Regions from separate parts of the Homo sapiens genome. Here regions 1, 2, 3, 4 and 5 are each linked to region 6. The links are contacts of gene promoters, found by promoter capture Hi-C in blood cells and fetal thymus (Javierre and others, 2016). All regions are on one chromosome and are shown on one strand. Each heading gives the region's core, a stretch centred on a gene start or on the middle of the fragment in contact. The rest is flanking DNA. Distances are from core to core; before and after follow the strand shown. Region 1 overlaps IBTK (inhibitor of Bruton tyrosine kinase). Region 2 has its middle 40 kb from the start of IBTK. Region 3 has its middle 14 kb from the start of IBTK. Region 4 holds the start of TPBG (trophoblast glycoprotein). Region 5 overlaps IBTK (inhibitor of Bruton tyrosine kinase). Region 6 holds the start of PRSS35 (serine protease 35).

The links. The method cuts DNA at HindIII sites, captures the fragments that hold promoters and counts their contacts. A CHiCAGO score of 5 or more calls a contact.
Region 1: a fragment that was not itself captured here is called in contact with the fragment with the promoter of PRSS35 in region 6 in 1 of 17 cell types (M0 macrophages); the score reaches 7.3 in M0 macrophages.
Region 2: a fragment that was not itself captured here is called in contact with the fragment with the promoter of PRSS35 in region 6 in 1 of 17 cell types (naive B cells); the score reaches 5.6 in naive B cells.
Region 3: a fragment that was not itself captured here is called in contact with the fragment with the promoter of PRSS35 in region 6 in 8 of 17 cell types (naive B cells, total B cells, total CD4 T cells and 5 more); the score reaches 9.6 in naive B cells.
Region 4: a contact is called between a fragment that was not itself captured here and the fragment with the promoter of PRSS35 in region 6, in 1 of 17 cell types (endothelial precursors). The highest score is 6.2, in endothelial precursors.
Region 5: a contact is called between a fragment that was not itself captured here and the fragment with the promoter of PRSS35 in region 6, in 1 of 17 cell types (M0 macrophages). The highest score is 5.8, in M0 macrophages.

Annotation. Positions count from the first base shown.
Region 1 is chr6:82,226,934-82,229,633 of GRCh38, forward strand. It overlaps IBTK (inhibitor of Bruton tyrosine kinase), which reads right to left. Exons shown (of 29, transcript NM_015525.4): 5 at 259-369. Among named protein-coding and RNA genes, the nearest start is that of IBTK, 19 kb to the right of the region's middle. RefSeq lists a silencer at 936-1,136. The HindIII fragment of the contact is 2,775 bases long and covers 13-2,700 here.
Region 2 is chr6:82,286,834-82,289,533 of GRCh38, forward strand. No RefSeq gene overlaps it. Among named protein-coding and RNA genes, the nearest start is that of IBTK, 40 kb to the left of the region's middle. RefSeq lists a silencer at 2,594-2,700. The HindIII fragment of the contact is 8,846 bases long and covers 1-2,700 here.
Region 3 is chr6:82,260,747-82,263,446 of GRCh38, forward strand. No RefSeq gene overlaps it. Among named protein-coding and RNA genes, the nearest start is that of IBTK, 14 kb to the left of the region's middle. The HindIII fragment of the contact is 349 bases long and covers 1,098-1,446 here.
Region 4 is chr6:82,363,482-82,366,181 of GRCh38, forward strand. It overlaps TPBG (trophoblast glycoprotein), which reads left to right and starts at 336. Exons shown (of 2, transcript NM_001376922.1): 1 at 336-427; 2 at 1,142-2,700. The coding sequence starts at 1,481. It overlaps LOC105377875 (a long non-coding RNA gene), which reads right to left and starts at 176. Exons shown (of 3, transcript XR_942738.4): 1 at 131-176. RefSeq lists enhancers at 1-282, 283-794, 946-1,848, 1,849-2,700 and a silencer at 1,817-1,896. The HindIII fragment of the contact is 2,910 bases long and covers 1-2,700 here.
Region 5 is chr6:82,195,855-82,198,554 of GRCh38, forward strand. It overlaps IBTK (inhibitor of Bruton tyrosine kinase), which reads right to left. Exons shown (of 29, transcript NM_015525.4): 22 at 444-592. Among named protein-coding and RNA genes, the nearest start is that of IBTK, 51 kb to the right of the region's middle. The HindIII fragment of the contact is 1,334 bases long and covers 675-2,008 here.
Region 6 is chr6:83,511,236-83,513,935 of GRCh38, forward strand. PRSS35 (serine protease 35) reads left to right here and starts at 1,299. Exons shown (of 2, transcript NM_153362.3): 1 at 1,299-1,459. The HindIII fragment of the contact is 1,326 bases long and covers 592-1,917 here.

The DNA of each region.
Region 1 (2,700 bases), core at 150-2,649, 1.3 Mb before region 6:
GAAACATTTTAAAGCTTATGTAACGCTCCTGACTCAGTATTTGCTATAAGCAAAGTATTACTTTTTTTAATCCTTTTGCATTGTATGTAAATCCTTAATTTAAACATGATATATCAGGAAACAGATTTTTTAAAATCTATTATCAATTGATGTATTATTTCGTCCTTACAGTTGAAAAAAAAATTTAGTTAATTAAATCTTTCAGCTTATCAGCATTTTTCTAAAGTTACCTAAATAGTGTAATGACATTTCAATTACCAAGCATGTCTGTTCATCTCCATGTCCTAATCGCCCTCCAGGACCATGACCACAGGTATAAACCTGCCCTTTCTGAGACAGAAACACGGAGTGAAATTTACAAAGCACCACCTAAGGGAAAACAAGAGAATATTATTAAACTTCTCTGAATAAAATATCCTTTATTTTATGAAAAAGAAATAGAATATTGTTAATTGTTTAAACAGGATAATGGATACAAGGGGAATTTATAAGACTTTAATTTCCACATTTTAAGTTTCCTGTAATAAAAATAAAAGATACATATGCTTTGTTTTAAAATTATGTCTAAAAACATTGACACGAAAAAAAAGAACAAAGAAAGAATTAAGCATGTGTTACCCACAGAAGAGATTACCCAAAGGAAAATATAATTTTAAACCTTCAATTCCAAAAATTAGTAGCCAGTTGTTTTCCAGTTTCATGAAATATCAAACAGTAAGAAATGAGCAAAGTGCAACAGGAAGCATAAAGATTACCAAATAGTGATATATGGTACTAATAAAAATAATAGAAACATCTTCAGAGTGTTTTCAAAAAACAATAAAGCCATTTATACATGGCGTAGGGGGCAGTATGTCCTTTTCTTTATCTTTGGTTTTATCAACATGTCTTTAATATACATTTATAATTATTTTAATAAATAATTTTATATTTATTTTCAAGTTTTTCTCTCCTTTCCCACTTCCTTTTTCCTTATCTGCCTCAATCTCAGTACACTCCCTTGCCCCTGATACACAGACTTACTATTCACATACTACAGAAGACAAAGATACTGAAACAGTTGAACTGCCTCAGCAGAACACAATAACAGGAAACCATCAGCAGTTTCAAATATATATATATTTACATATCTAACCCTGGGCCACATTTTGCTATTTTCCAAGCTCTGATATTCATTATACTCACTTTACCTTAATAATATTTTTAAAATCTTCTCATTTTTAAAGATTGTTTGCATTTATATTTCTTACAACATCTGCAAATATTTCTAACTTAGGATATAAAAAGATGAGTAAGAAATAAAGAAACCCTAAAATCATTTCCAGAAAGTCAAGGTCCTTTGGAAAACAAAAAAATTATAAGCTAGACAAGCTCTAAATATTTACACATACCCTAGACCGCTCGGAATTTTGTAAGCACAATATAGCTATCAAATAAAAAAAGTAATGCAAAGATTATTATCTCATTTAGCTGTACCACAAATACCTAAAAAGTTTAAAAATAAAATCCAAATTTGTATTTTAAATTTACAAGTTGTCAGTGAAATTCATTTTATGAAATAAGAAAGAATACATTTCATTCAATTTTATATTAAATATTAGAATGCCATCCTACAACTGCTGACTTCTACTACTAAACAACAGTTGCAATACTAGACAGTTTTAAGTTATCCAACTTTAAAAACCCCAGACTTTTTTTTTTTTTTTGAGACGGAGTCTCGCTCTGTCACCCAGGCTGGAGTGCAGTGGCGCCATCTCGGTTCACTGCAAGCTCTGCCTCCCGGGTTCACGCTATTCTCCTGCCTCAGCCTCCCGAGTAGCTGGGACTACAGGTGCCCGCCACCACGCCTGGCTAATTTTTTATATTTTTGGTAGAGATGGGGTTTCACTGTGTTAGCCAGGATGGTCTCGATCTCCTGACCTCGTGATCTGCCCGCCTCAGCCTCCCAAAGTGCTGGGATTACAGGTATGAGCCACTGCGCCCAGCCTAAAACCCCTGAATTTTTAAATAAGAACTGAGCATGGATTTTCGCTTTTAATTATCTGGAATATATAATACTAACATTAATAATCTCTGTCTCATGGTAGTTAATTAATTTGGTACTGTATAATATAGAATCAGCCCCTTTTCAATAACAAATGGGGCTCTCTATATAACTGGTACTCAATTAATATTCCCATACTTGCTTTCTCTTCCCTGACTGAAATTTATACTGATTTCTTTCCTTCAAACCTACCCACTGTGCTTGCTTCACCCTCATTCTGTGGTAAATAAAATCCCTTAGATCCTTAATACCTTCACAAAACACGCCCACTGCCTTGCCTTACCTGAAATGTGGCTTTCTCTTTGAGTACACTAGTTCACTCACAACCCTGGCAAATGGAATATGCTCAAATATTCCAAACTATATATTTCTTTGGATCAGACATTTCAATCACCCTCTGATTTCCTAATGCCATCATGATTCCCTCACTCTTGTCTTTAAAATCCCTGCTCCGTAACAGCTCATGAAATAAAGGTATATCATGTACTACCTCAAAAAAGGAAAAACAGGTGTCTTTCTTGTGCCACAATTCCAATCAATCATTAGTGGCTGCTAATGGTTGGATTATCATTTTAAGGAGGAGTCTGAGGACCCACTCAAGCTCAGCATGAGAAAAAAAAAACTGACTAGCATGTCTGCAAAAAGCTCTAGACTAG
Region 2 (2,700 bases), core at 71-2,570, 1.2 Mb before region 6:
ACGTTATTTATATGATAATATCTAATACAATGTAAATCTTATGAAAATGGCTGTTATTCAGTATTGTTTTTATTGTTGTGTTATTATTGTTTTATTTTTATTTATTTTTTTGAGATGGAGTCTCACACTGTCACCTGGGCTGGAGTGCAGTGGCGCGATCTTAGCTCACTGCAACCTCCGCCTCCCAGGTTCAAGCCATTCTCCTTGCCTCAGTCTCCCAAGTAGCTGGTATTACAGGTGCCCGCCACCATGCCCGGCTAATTTTTTTGTATTTTTAGTAGAGACAGAGTTTCACTATGTTGGTCAGGCTGGTCTCAAACTCCTGATTTCATGATCAGCTTGCCTCGGCCTCCCAAAGTGCTGGGATTACAGGTGTGAGCCACCGCACCTGGCCTATTTTATTTATTTATTTATTTATACTTATTTTTTTTGAGACGGAGTCTCGCTCTGTTGCTCAGGCTGGGGTGCAAAGGCACGATCTTGGCTCAGTCAACCACTGCCTCCCAGATTCAAGTGATTCTCCTGCCTCAGCCTCCAGAGTAGCTGGGGTTACAGGCACCTGCCACCATATCCAGCTAATTTTTGTATTTTTGTAGAGATGGGGTTTCACCATGTTGGCCAGGCTGGTCTTGAACTCCTGACCTCAGGTGATTTGGTCACCTTGGCCTCCCAAAGTGTTGGGATTTCAGGTGTGAGCCACCGCACCCAGCCCATATTGTCATTATTTATGTATTTATTTGTTTTTATATGTTTTCTGTCTCCAGTTGATTGAATCCAGGGATATGGAACCCACAGATAAGAACTGATTATATTAGGCCAGTGAAGTAAAATGGCTGCCTGAAAGGTAAGAAAACAAATGAGGATTCAATGAAAACAGCAAAGACAGAAATCTCCCCAGGAAAGCTGAGAACAGAGATTGGTTGTTGGTCAATTCATTTGTGCCCCATTGATATTCAACATTGACTGGATTGTATAACTTTCTTTCTTCACTAACATCAGGTTATTATTATTGGCGCTAGGTTTTTTCTTCCCATTTGTGCATGGTTTAACACATCTCCCAAAATGAGACTGTCATGCAGGGATATATTGTAAAAAAGCATTGGAAGAATGAGAAAAGTGGTAGTAGTAAGTCCACTGGATGATAGAGTAGAGAGGAAACATTATTCTGCCCAAGATAAGAAAATTATAATAGAAATAAGATGGTGATCATTAGCAAAGAATTTAAGTTCTCTCCTCCTACAAACAGCAGAGAGTTCTCATGACTCTCCAGGTTTTTCTTTGTTCAATGGCTTCCCAGAAGGTGATAAGTGAATAATAGATAACACTCAGTGAAGTTAAGCAAGGGCTTCTAGAGAGTAGAGAAGATGATTCCATAGGCTAAGAGCTAAAGGGAAAGTCTTGGTTACTTTCAAAATTCATTACATGAAGGAGAGTTCCAAAAAGTCCTAGAAACTTGAATATAAAAGTGATTGCAACATTTATGTGGCCAACAAATATACAAAAAAAAGCTCAACATCACTGATCATTAGAGAAATGCAAATCAACACCACAATGAGATACCATCTCATGCCAGTCAGAATGGCAATTATTAAAAAGTCAAGAAACAATAGATGCTGGAGGGGCTGTGGAGAAATAGGAACACTTTTACACTGTTGGTGAGAATGTAAATTAGTTCAACTATTGTGGAAGACAGTGTGGCCATTCCTCAAGGATCTAGAACCAGAAATACCATTTTACCCAGCAATCCCATTACTGGGTATATACTTAAAGGAATATAAATCATTCTACTATAAAGACACATGCACACATATGTTTACGGCACCACTGTTTACAATAGCAAAGACATGGAACCAACCAAATGCCCATCAGTGGTAGACTGGATAAAGAAAATGTGGCACATATACACCATGGAATACCATACTATGCAGCCATAAAAAGGATTGAGATCATGTCCTTTGCGGGGACATGGATGAAGCTGGAAACATCATCTTCAGAAAACTAACACAGAAACAGAAAACCAAACACCGCATGTTCTCACTCATAAGTGGAAGTTGAATAATGAGGACACATGGACACAGGGAGGGGAAAAACACACACCAGGGACAGTCAGGGGGTGGGGGGTGAGGGGAAGGAGAGCATTAGGACAAATAGCTAATGCATGAGGGGCTTAAAACCTAGATGATGGGTTGATAGGTGCAGCAAACCACCATGGTACCCGTATATGTATGTAACAAACCTTCACGTTCTGCACTTGTATCCCAGAACTTAAAATAAAATTAAAAAAAAAAAAAAGTGAATGCAAACTAAAGTCTGTCACAGCTTCTCAGCAAGACAATGTGTCAGTGATTCTGATTAAAGTGAATGGACTCTATAGACAGAGGTTGCTCAGGAATCCCTGAGATCTTGATGGAGAGCAATCTCTGTGTTTGATTGTATTTGGTGCAGGATTTTCTGTTAATTAAACCTTTTAATATAAGTCTATAGCAAGAATCCTTGTATTGGATTCAAATATTTCTTGGTTCTGAGGCAGGGGAAGAGCAAGGAGGGGATTACAGCAGTGAATAATATTACATGAAATTAATCACCACTGAGTTTTTTCTTTTTTTTTTTTTTGAGAAAAAGTTTTGCTCTTGTTGCCCAGGCTGAAGTGCAACGGCGTGATCTCGGCTAACTGCAACCTCCACCTCCCGAGTTCAAGCA
Region 3 (2,700 bases), core at 22-2,521, 1.3 Mb before region 6:
TGTTTTAAACTTCTCCAATCTGTTTCCACATCCAGTAACATAAATATTTCAATGTAATGCCAACCCATAAATATTAGCTGATGATCACGATCTAAACTGTATTTCAAAAAATAAGAGGCATCCATTAAAAGGGTTTTAAAATATTTTATTCACACTTTTCATGGAAATCTTTTTCTAAACTTCTAATTGCACTAGAGAAAATACCAGTAAAATCTTCTCATAAGGATGACCATGAAGGACTTCTGTTTATCTTTATTAAATGTAGACCCAACACATCCCCAACTACAAGTGTTCTACTTCCTCATTTCCTATTTAAAGGAAAGGAAAAAAACTCACTTCCTTTTCTTTACCATTCTTTTGAGACCTATCAAACTGGTAAACTGCTCCATACTGCTCTATTAATAGCAGCTAATGGGTAGTGAGGCACCATAATTGCCTTTTAGTGATGATGCCTTAATTCACTAAATTCATTAGTAAATCTAGTACTGGAAATGTTTTCAGGCACTCATAGTTCAAGAGAGAGAGATTTGGGAACAGGCCAGATCTAAAGCAAGCATTGTCTGGAGTTCTTTGATTTGTATTAATGCTGTGGAATATGAGTCTGTGAAAGGAAAATAAATTTTGGGACACCCTCCACCCCCACCCACTCCTCGCCAAATCACTAAGCCAAAGGAAAAAGTCAAGCTGGGAACTGCTTAGGGCAAACCTGCCTCCCATTCTATTCCTAAAAAAGATAGCTACTAAGATAAAAAGCTACATACCTCTCTCACAAGAAATTTCCTTGTAGAGAAAGGACAGAGAGGACTCAGTCATCTCTCTGCTCACTGAGATAAATGCATATCTGATTGCCTCCATTGGAAAGGCTAATCAGAAACTCAAAAGAATGCAACCCTTTGTCTCTTTCCTACCTATGAACTGGAAGCCCCCTCCCCGCTTTGAGTTATTCTGCCTTTCCACACAGAACCAATGTACATCTTACATATTGTAATCTCTGTAAAATGTACAAAACCAAGCTGTGCCCCAACAACCTTGGGCACATGTCATCAGGACCTCCTGAAGCTGTGTCATGGGCCTGTGTTCTTAACTTTGGTAAAATAAGCTTCCTAAATTGACTAAGACCTGTTTCAGATAAAGATCACTCCTCAGATCTTACTTTGCAGGAGGGTGCTATCTCTACCTATAATAAGCAAAGCTGATTAAGACTAGTTGAATGCATATAAGAATTACATTAAATGCAATTACACATATCTATTGAGCATATTATATATGTAGACACTGTTAGCTAATGCAGAGGATTCAAGAAAAGCAATTTAAAATCTAGTATGGAGAATAAGGTAGATACATAAGTATCACTGATAGTAAAGTGAGACACTGTCATAAAAGAGACAATGGGATTGTGGAGCTACAAAAAGAGAGAGATTACAATCAGTTGAAAGGATCAGGGAAAGCTTCTTCTTTTTTTTTTTTTTTTTTTTTTTTGAGACGGAGTTTCCCTCTTGTTGCCCAGGCTGGAGTGCAATGGTGCAACCTCAGCTCACTGGAATGTCTACCTCCTAAGTTCAAGGGATTCTCCTGCCTCAAACTTCCAAGTAGCTGGGATTACAGGTGCCTGCCACCACACCCGGCTAATTGAAAGCTTCTAGTGGAGTTATTTGTGAAAGAACTGAGGGATAAATAGGAGCATCTGAAAGGAATCTACTTTTTCCATGATTGCTAATGTAGAGAAAAACTATAAAAGACTTTGAAATGCATCAAAAAGATTACTGATGACTTCAGTAGAAAATTAGGTGGTTTAGCTGGGATCATTGCACCTTTCATTGTCTTTGAGATATTTTACAACTCTGCAAATTGTAGATAATGGATAGCAGTGCAAACAAGCTCATATTCACAAACATGCAAATTAATTTTGTCAGGTGGAAACACAACTGATTTCTTTATTTCCATTTCTGTAATAAGCAAGTTTTGTATTTATTTACTTTTTTTAATATAAACTCTCAACTAAGTGATTTTATTCCTGTCCATGATTGCAGACACTTACAAAAACATAACATCTGAGTTCACCTTAAGAAATAACTTACAGCTGGGCATGGTGGCCCATGCCTGTAGTCCCAGCTACTTGGGAGGTTGAGGAAAGAGAATCACTTGAACCCAGGAGGTGAAGATTGTAGTGTGCCCAGATTGTCCCACTGCACTTCAGCCTAGGTGACAGAGTGAGACTCTGTCGAAAAAAAAAAAGAAGGAAGGAAGAAAGGAAGGAAGGAAGGAAGGAAGGAAGAAAAAGAAAGAAAGAAAGAGAAAGAAAGAAAGAAAGAGAAAGAAAGAAAGAAAGAAAGAAAGAAAGAGAAGGAAAGAAAGAAAGAAAGAAAGAAAGAAAGAAAGAAAGAAAGAAAGAAAGAAAGAAAGAAAAGAAAAGAAAGAACGGACGAATGAACTTGCATAAAGCAGGGACATAGATAGCACACAATAGTTCAGGGAGGATGCAGAAGCAACTTTTAGTAATTAAAATGTTAATGTGAATAAAGGATGGAATAAATATCCCTACTTATTTCTACCTAAGATGTTATGTGATAATATTTTACAATGTCCTGAGGGTCAATGTATGTTTGTGTATATGTCCATATAACACACACAGATACAGTACATTCTTCTTCCCACACATATACATACAAACATAATTATTTGCAGTTCAGTTTAAGTCAA
Region 4 (2,700 bases), core at 89-2,588, 1.1 Mb before region 6:
GGTGCCTGAATCAGGGTGAATTCCACGAGATTCACCAGCGGTTTTGCTCCAGTCCAAGGTAAATACAGTATGCAAAATGAGGAACCACCCAAGGATGTCGGGGAGGGGGGAGAGAAAGGGATTCCCTCACCTTTTCCGGCACATTCCTCGTTAATTTCCACCAGGAGGAGGCGCGCAGCCCAGCTCCCCTAGTCTCTCTTCTTAAATCCCCCTACCTACGGCTGCCGAGGTTGGCCGCGCGTCGGGAATCTCCCCGACAGTCCTGGCCCTCCCCCGCCCCCCGGGTTGGTTTTTCCCAGCTGCGGAGGTTGGGAGGTTGGGCCAGGGGCTGGGGTGCGAAGAGAGTCGGCGCCCGCAACGCGGAGCCGGGAAGTCGTCGCTACTCTGGTGGAACTCAGAGTTGGTTCTGGAGGCGGCGGACGCGGAGGTGAGCAGTGGGAGCCCGCGGCCTGGGAGAGACCCGGGAGGCGTCGTTGGGGCCCCTCCCCATCCTCGGGTGGAGAGTAGGGTTGGTTCGGGTTGCCACTGTACCCCGAGTCCCACTGCTGCTTTGTTCCCAGACTCTCCCCTCCTCTTTGGAGATGACTTGAACCCCTTTGAGATCCGAGGGGCTGGCGGGGCGCGGGCTGGGGGGCGACAGTTGTAGCTCCACTTCCTGCTAATGCGAGAAGGTACAAAAAGAGATCAAAAAGTCCTGTAACCTGAAACTTCCCTCGCATCCTAACCGGGACCTGGTGGAGAGGTCTGGGCGGGGGCGGAGACACCCGGAGGCCGACCTTCCGCCGAGGCGGTGCAGGAAGGAACGGGAGAGGGAGAAGTTTGGTAGGGAAGGAATTGGGGATTAAGCGGTAAGTTAGACGCGGGAGACGAGTCTCCTCGGGAAAGGCGGAGGGCGGGAGGCCGGTCGGGTTTATTTAGTGTGGGCCAGGGAAGAAGGAAGACTTTGCGGTCTGGGTGTCGGATGCGCGTCCCCCTCCGGAGTAAAAGTGACCGGAGGGGTTGGGGAGGCGAGGCCGGGGCGGGCTTTTGGAAGGAGGTCTCTGGGACAGACTGGAGACGACTAGACTCGAAAAGGCCGGTTTTTGCACTCCGGAAGCCGCGGCAGCCACCGCTGTTCACGCCTCTCTCCTGCTTGTCCCAGGTCCCTCAGAGGATCCAGCGAGGGGCGCCAACAAGAGGCGAAGAGGTGGCACCAGGGCGGCGGCAGGAAGAGGAGCGGGAGCAGGAGCGCGGAGCGGAGCGTCCCGACCCGCCGTGCGTACTTTCTGGAGGGAAGGGGCGGGGGAATCGGCCCCTGAGGGAAGCGCCCGGTGGCGAGGGGGTTAGCCAAGTTCCGGCTGCGGCGCCACTCCCTCGGTTCCACGAGAGGAAAGTTTTTTTTTTCCAGACGCTTCCGCCGGCTCGCGCCCTCCGGGCCCAGCCTCCCGAGCCTTCGGAGCGGGCGCCGTCCCAGCCCAGCTCCGGGGAAACGCGAGCCGCGATGCCTGGGGGGTGCTCCCGGGGCCCCGCCGCCGGGGACGGGCGTCTGCGGCTGGCGCGACTAGCGCTGGTACTCCTGGGCTGGGTCTCCTCGTCTTCTCCCACCTCCTCGGCATCCTCCTTCTCCTCCTCGGCGCCGTTCCTGGCTTCCGCCGTGTCCGCCCAGCCCCCGCTGCCGGACCAGTGCCCCGCGCTGTGCGAGTGCTCCGAGGCAGCGCGCACAGTCAAGTGCGTTAACCGCAATCTGACCGAGGTGCCCACGGACCTGCCCGCCTACGTGCGCAACCTCTTCCTTACCGGCAACCAGCTGGCCGTGCTCCCTGCCGGCGCCTTCGCCCGCCGGCCGCCGCTGGCGGAGCTGGCCGCGCTCAACCTCAGCGGCAGCCGCCTGGACGAGGTGCGCGCGGGCGCCTTCGAGCATCTGCCCAGCCTGCGCCAGCTCGACCTCAGCCACAACCCACTGGCCGACCTCAGTCCCTTCGCTTTCTCGGGCAGCAATGCCAGCGTCTCGGCCCCCAGTCCCCTTGTGGAACTGATCCTGAACCACATCGTGCCCCCTGAAGATGAGCGGCAGAACCGGAGCTTCGAGGGCATGGTGGTGGCGGCCCTGCTGGCGGGCCGTGCACTGCAGGGGCTCCGCCGCTTGGAGCTGGCCAGCAACCACTTCCTTTACCTGCCGCGGGATGTGCTGGCCCAACTGCCCAGCCTCAGGCACCTGGACTTAAGTAATAATTCGCTGGTGAGCCTGACCTACGTGTCCTTCCGCAACCTGACACATCTAGAAAGCCTCCACCTGGAGGACAATGCCCTCAAGGTCCTTCACAATGGCACCCTGGCTGAGTTGCAAGGTCTACCCCACATTAGGGTTTTCCTGGACAACAATCCCTGGGTCTGCGACTGCCACATGGCAGACATGGTGACCTGGCTCAAGGAAACAGAGGTAGTGCAGGGCAAAGACCGGCTCACCTGTGCATATCCGGAAAAAATGAGGAATCGGGTCCTCTTGGAACTCAACAGTGCTGACCTGGACTGTGACCCGATTCTTCCCCCATCCCTGCAAACCTCTTATGTCTTCCTGGGTATTGTTTTAGCCCTGATAGGCGCTATTTTCCTCCTGGTTTTGTATTTGAACCGCAAGGGGATAAAAAAGTGGATGCATAACATCAGAGATGCCTGCAGGGATCACATGGAAGGGTATCATTACAGATATGAAATCAATGC
Region 5 (2,700 bases), core at 92-2,591, 1.3 Mb before region 6:
CAAATCATTTCCAAATTGTTTTGCTCCAGTTAATACCCTGGAGGAAAGAGACTGCGAACTTTCAAAGTAGGCTTATTTTCGAAATCATTTGCCTTGACAATTTTTAACTGATGTTAACTGACATTTCACAAGATAAATTTCAATAATTTAGCTACAAATATATTTTTTCAACATGTCTATAGTGTTATTATATTTTACATCAACATTATATTTTAGTTGCACAAAGACTAGAAATAACATCATAAAGGGCTCAAAACTGCCATTACAATCTCTAAAAATAGAAATGTTGTGCAAATTTAAGAAAACTAACACTATATTTGTGATTCTTATATACCAACCTGGAAACTGTTTTAAAATTAGGGCAAAAATAAGGAAATATTAAAGATAAACCATCTATAAATCTAAAATCTGAAGGTAAGGAGGTAGTGCTTCAAAAAACAAACCTCAATCTTATCTGAATGAAATCCTGTTGTGAAATCAGGGGACTGTAAATCTCTAGGACTACCCACTCCTGCATAGCTTCCTTCAGAGTCTGATGTCAACAGTTCTGGAAGAGATTCCACAGAATTGGTCTTACCAGACTTTAATAATCCTAAAACATGAAATTAAAAAAAATTAAACACATATGCATTAAACATATATGCATTACATTCCATGAACCAGAGAGCTAAAAAAGCTTTCATTTATCCAGATTTAATAACATTCAAATTATATTTATGGTATAAAAATCTTAATAATTCAAGTTAACTGGAGAAAGAAATCAGTTTAAGTGAAAAACTGAAATGGAAGAGATTCTAAAACAATAATTTTATTCATTACAATCACACACCAATTGTGTAATGAACCTGAGGAAGATAGTTCTTTGGGATCTGCTCTAAAAAGTGATTTAAAATATTTTTGTCCGCATAAGAGACAAAGGAGAAAGGGAAAATAATTAAAATCCAGACCTCTTTTCCCTTTCTCATCTGTCTCTTGGTACAGTGGTCTCCGCACCCAAGCAAGGGGGTAGCTTCATTCTATGTGGGAGGAACCCTGTGGCCTTTTTGCCTCTCACTTAGCCAGCTGACTGACCCCATAGCAGAGGCTCCCGCAGAAGACAACTGTGGCCTGTTTGAAGTGTGTTTTTCCCTGAAATCTCTGGCTATTGAGAGCTCGCTTGAAGCAAGAGGGTTGTTGTGAAATGTATATATCATTTCTTCTCTTAGGCAAGCTAAATGCCTGGCCTCATGCCACACCTGGTATCCAGGTTCAAACTTTTGCTTAGATTCACATGTCCATTTCCACACATTTCAAATTTATTAGAATCTAAATGAAGTACCAAAATAAGCTATAAAATAAAGATGTTATCTAACTTGTAACTAAAAGCTGTATAATTGATTTAAAAATAAAACCTACCATCTCTTATACATTGTTCTCTTTAAAGTAAATCACCTTAACAAGCTAAATGTTTCTTTTATTGTTATCACTACAATTTGGAAAGAACATTTAAACATTTTTTTTGCCACACAATCTTTTTGAATTTTTTTTTTTTTTTGAGACAGAGTCTTACTCTATTGCCCAGGCTGGAGTGCGGTGGCATGATCTCAGCTCACTGCAACCTCCACCTCCAGGTTCAAGTGTTTCTCCTGCCTCAGCCTTCCAAGTAGCTAGGATTACAGGCATGCACCACCATGCCCGGCTAATTTTTTTTGTATTTTTACTAGAGACAGCGTTTCACCATATTGGCCAGGCTGGTCTGGAGCTCCTGATTTTGTGGTCCGCCCGCCTTGGCCTCCCAAAGTGCTGGGATTACAGGCAGGAGCCACTGCGTCTTGCCTCTTTTTGAATATTTTTAAGGCTGGCAAATTTTCATCGAAGAGAATACATCTAATATTAGAACACTCTCAAAAGTCAGTTAGAAATAAATCCAGAAAAAAAGAGGACAATTAATGTGGCCAACAATTACTTCTGGTCAAAAACAGTTTTGCTGAATGCCGTTTGTCTAACTTTAAGATCGACACAGATGTTAAGCTTTTACGCAACTGTCTTTGATGAAATTGGCCTCATACTCAAATTTTCTTCCTTAACAGGTCTTTTTGGCCTCCAATTAAATCTGACCTTTTAGTTATCTTTGACTACAGATATCCTGGCCACAGAAAGAACAGTACACCAGGAAAATACGGACCTGGAATCAAGAGAACAAATTTTATTTCTTTTGGTCACTACTTCAAATCACTTATGTTTTTTGAGCTTCTTTCCTTAGGTTTAAAGTAAGGGACATAAATTATTTCATTACTAATGTCTCTTCTAGCTCTGAAATTCTAAGATTCTAACACATATGGTAACAATAACATTATTTAAAACAAACCAAATATCTGCTTTTCCATAAGTCATTTAGGTGACTGGAAAGTCATTACTTTCAAGACTGTCTATCCATTATTCATCCTTCCATCAATCCACCCCTGCCTCCTTCTAAACACTAACGGTAATTCATACAACACAGAGAACACAGAGTCACAGAATTTTAAATTTAGAAAAGTCCTAAGATAATAGCTTTCCCATTTACTAGGTCTCCTGATTCCTATTTTCATTGCTTCATAAATAAATTTTAGGCATATTATCTATCCTTTTTTTATCTTTATGTTATCTAAAACTATTCTTGACATTATTCCTTTGAGCTTTAGTGAACATATCAAGCACCTAATTTGAAGCATCTCAGTA
Region 6 (2,700 bases), core at 49-2,548:
TGGTAAAAATTACCAATAGATTTTAATATATGGGTAAATGCTTATGTTAACAATGCTAAATGAGAAAACAGCAATGAAATTGTATATATAGTTGGCCCTTGGACACATATTTGAACTGCACAGGTCCACTTATACACAGATTTTTTTTTTCACCCAAAAGCGGATAGAAAACAGTATTTTCAGGCAGAAATGCTTAAACAGAGGGCAGACTTTTCCTATACGCGGGTTCCCCAGGGCCCACAGCTGGACTTGGACTTGAATATGGGATGATTTTAGTATGGGGGGGCGGAGGGGAAGAGGGCCTGGAACTAGTCCGTTGAGTATAACGAGGGACAATGCTAAGTATGTTATAATCTCATTAAAAGTACACAGAACTTGAGATACGCAATAACCTACTAACGAACCAAGTGTTACAAGACATGCTAAGACCTTGTGTTGTAAGTACTTGTGCACTTACTCGATCTCCCTGCTTTAGGGCCAGGACCGAGTTTTTTTGTTTTTGTTTTTGTTTTTGTTTATGTATTCTCTCGTTGTATCAGTTCATCTTGCCCCAGACCTGTCACCCACTAGAATTTGTTGTTAAACAAATGAAGCTTCCTTTCTCATGTGGCCCCCACCCCTCTCCTAAAGGAGAATAAAAGGTCGAGAGAACGGATGAGGTTAGAATGCTGGTGGGACTGAGATGGGAAAGGACCTTAAAGGTTACTCGCCCAAAGAGGAAAACCAGCCTTTTCCCTGCAGACGGAAACTGACGCGCTCCCCCTGGAGGCAGCGCAGGATGCTCCCGGGGGTCCAGGCGTCCCAGCCTGAGGTCCCCATCCTCGTGTGCAGCCTGGGCGCCTGGTACAAGTCGGGGTAACCCTGAGGCTTGTGCATCCAGAGAAGCTAGGTCCCCGGTGGAGACTAGCTTGGGATAAGGTTGGGGAGACGCCCTCCGTTCTTCTAGATGCCTGGGGTCTCAACAGCAAGCAGTGAGGAATGAGACTCTTAACTGAACAACTCCTGAGACTGTTAAAGGAGTGCATACTATTACAGGGACAGGCATCCCCTGTGAACCTACTCATGAATTTTTCCTAATGCTTAATTCAGCTTGGGGGCAGAAATGCTGGGGTGAGACACGGCCAGGTCCGCCCCGTTCCTCCAGGGAACTCCCCTCTCCGCCCTCCCTCTCCGTCTCCTCTTGCCCACCTCCTCCTCCTCCCCTCCCCCCACTCCATCCCACCGCGCCCGCCCCTCGTCATCGCCCCCTTTCCCCTCCCATCTCCCGGCCGTGGTGCGGCGCAGCTCTCTCCCCCTCCGCAGTCTCAGTGGCGAGCTCTGGGTGCTGTGGCCCGGCCTTGGCGGGGCGGCCTCCGGCTCAGGCTGGCTGAGAGGCTCCCAGCTGCAGCGTCCCCGCCCGCCTCCTCGGGAGCTCTGATCTCAGCTGACAGTGCCCTCGGGGACCAAACAAGCCTGGCAGGTAAAGATGAAGCTCCCCAAACCCAACAACCTTAGAACTTAGAAATTTCCCTGAGAAAGGCAGGACCTACCCGAGGAGAGCTTCTTTGAAGGACTTTGAAGAAAGGGATCAAACTTGACACTTTCTTTCAGTCCTCAAAGAAACTAACCACCCTTCCCATAGGCAATTCTGTGTGCCGGCCTCTGCACAGTTTAATATTAACGACAACAATGTTTGCATTGGAATATAAATGGAATTCTTTCTGCTTAAGCAGTACCAGAGGGGACCCTCTTTATTTTTATGATTGTTAACAGATGCCATTGAGAAAGGTATGAAACGCATTCCTGAAAAGTCTCTTTGGCGGGGTTACTATGAAAGCTAGCCTCTCCCCTCTACCCTTTTATCAACTTGGCTGCGGAGGTCAGCAAAAGGAGCATAGGAAAACGTTTAGAAAATGAGGCGGCGAAATGAAGTAGAAAAGCTTTTGACTTGCTTTGAAATACTCTAGCTGAAAAAAAAAAGTGTGTGGGGTGGTGATGGTGGATGAAACATTGGCAAAATATTGACAATAGTTGAAGCTGGTGATGTGCACATGGGGGTTGTACTTTTCTCTCAACTTAATACTTTTCTCTGTGCTTTTGTGTAGTCTTGAAATTTTCTATAATAAAAGGTTTTTTAAAAAGTTGTAGAAACACTCCCGCTTGATTGCTCTGACATTTTTACACTGTCCTTGATTTGAAAAGAAGCTGCTTGCTGTGTCTAGGGGGCTTTCACCCCTTATTAACCCTTCTGACTTCTGAAATTCATTCTTATTTTATCCGAAGTACATTTGTCTCCACAGAGGATTATAAAAGTCATATTTTGCTGGCTGGAGAATTATACTTAGAATCTGGTTTATAATTTAGAAGAGAGAATGTTAAAATCCCTGCCAAATAAGACATGTAGGCTTGAAGGTAGAGGCCAAGTATCATATGGAATTTTATTTTTATTAGGAAATATTAGAGGAGTTCCTTTAGTGAGGGAAGTGGTAGATGTGGATACTGTACCCCATTTTTCTTCCAGATAGCTGGGAAAACTGCATGCTTTTAAGAAGCTTTTTCACGTTTTAAAATGTGAGACTGTTTAGCATATACTTGGCATACAGTATGTGTTCATTAGATGTTAAAATAAGCAATTGCTAGTGTGAGTTAATTTTCTCCATTGGGTAAATGATTTTCCTCTGCCCAATGCTCAAATATCAAACAAGCATATTGCATTTTAAC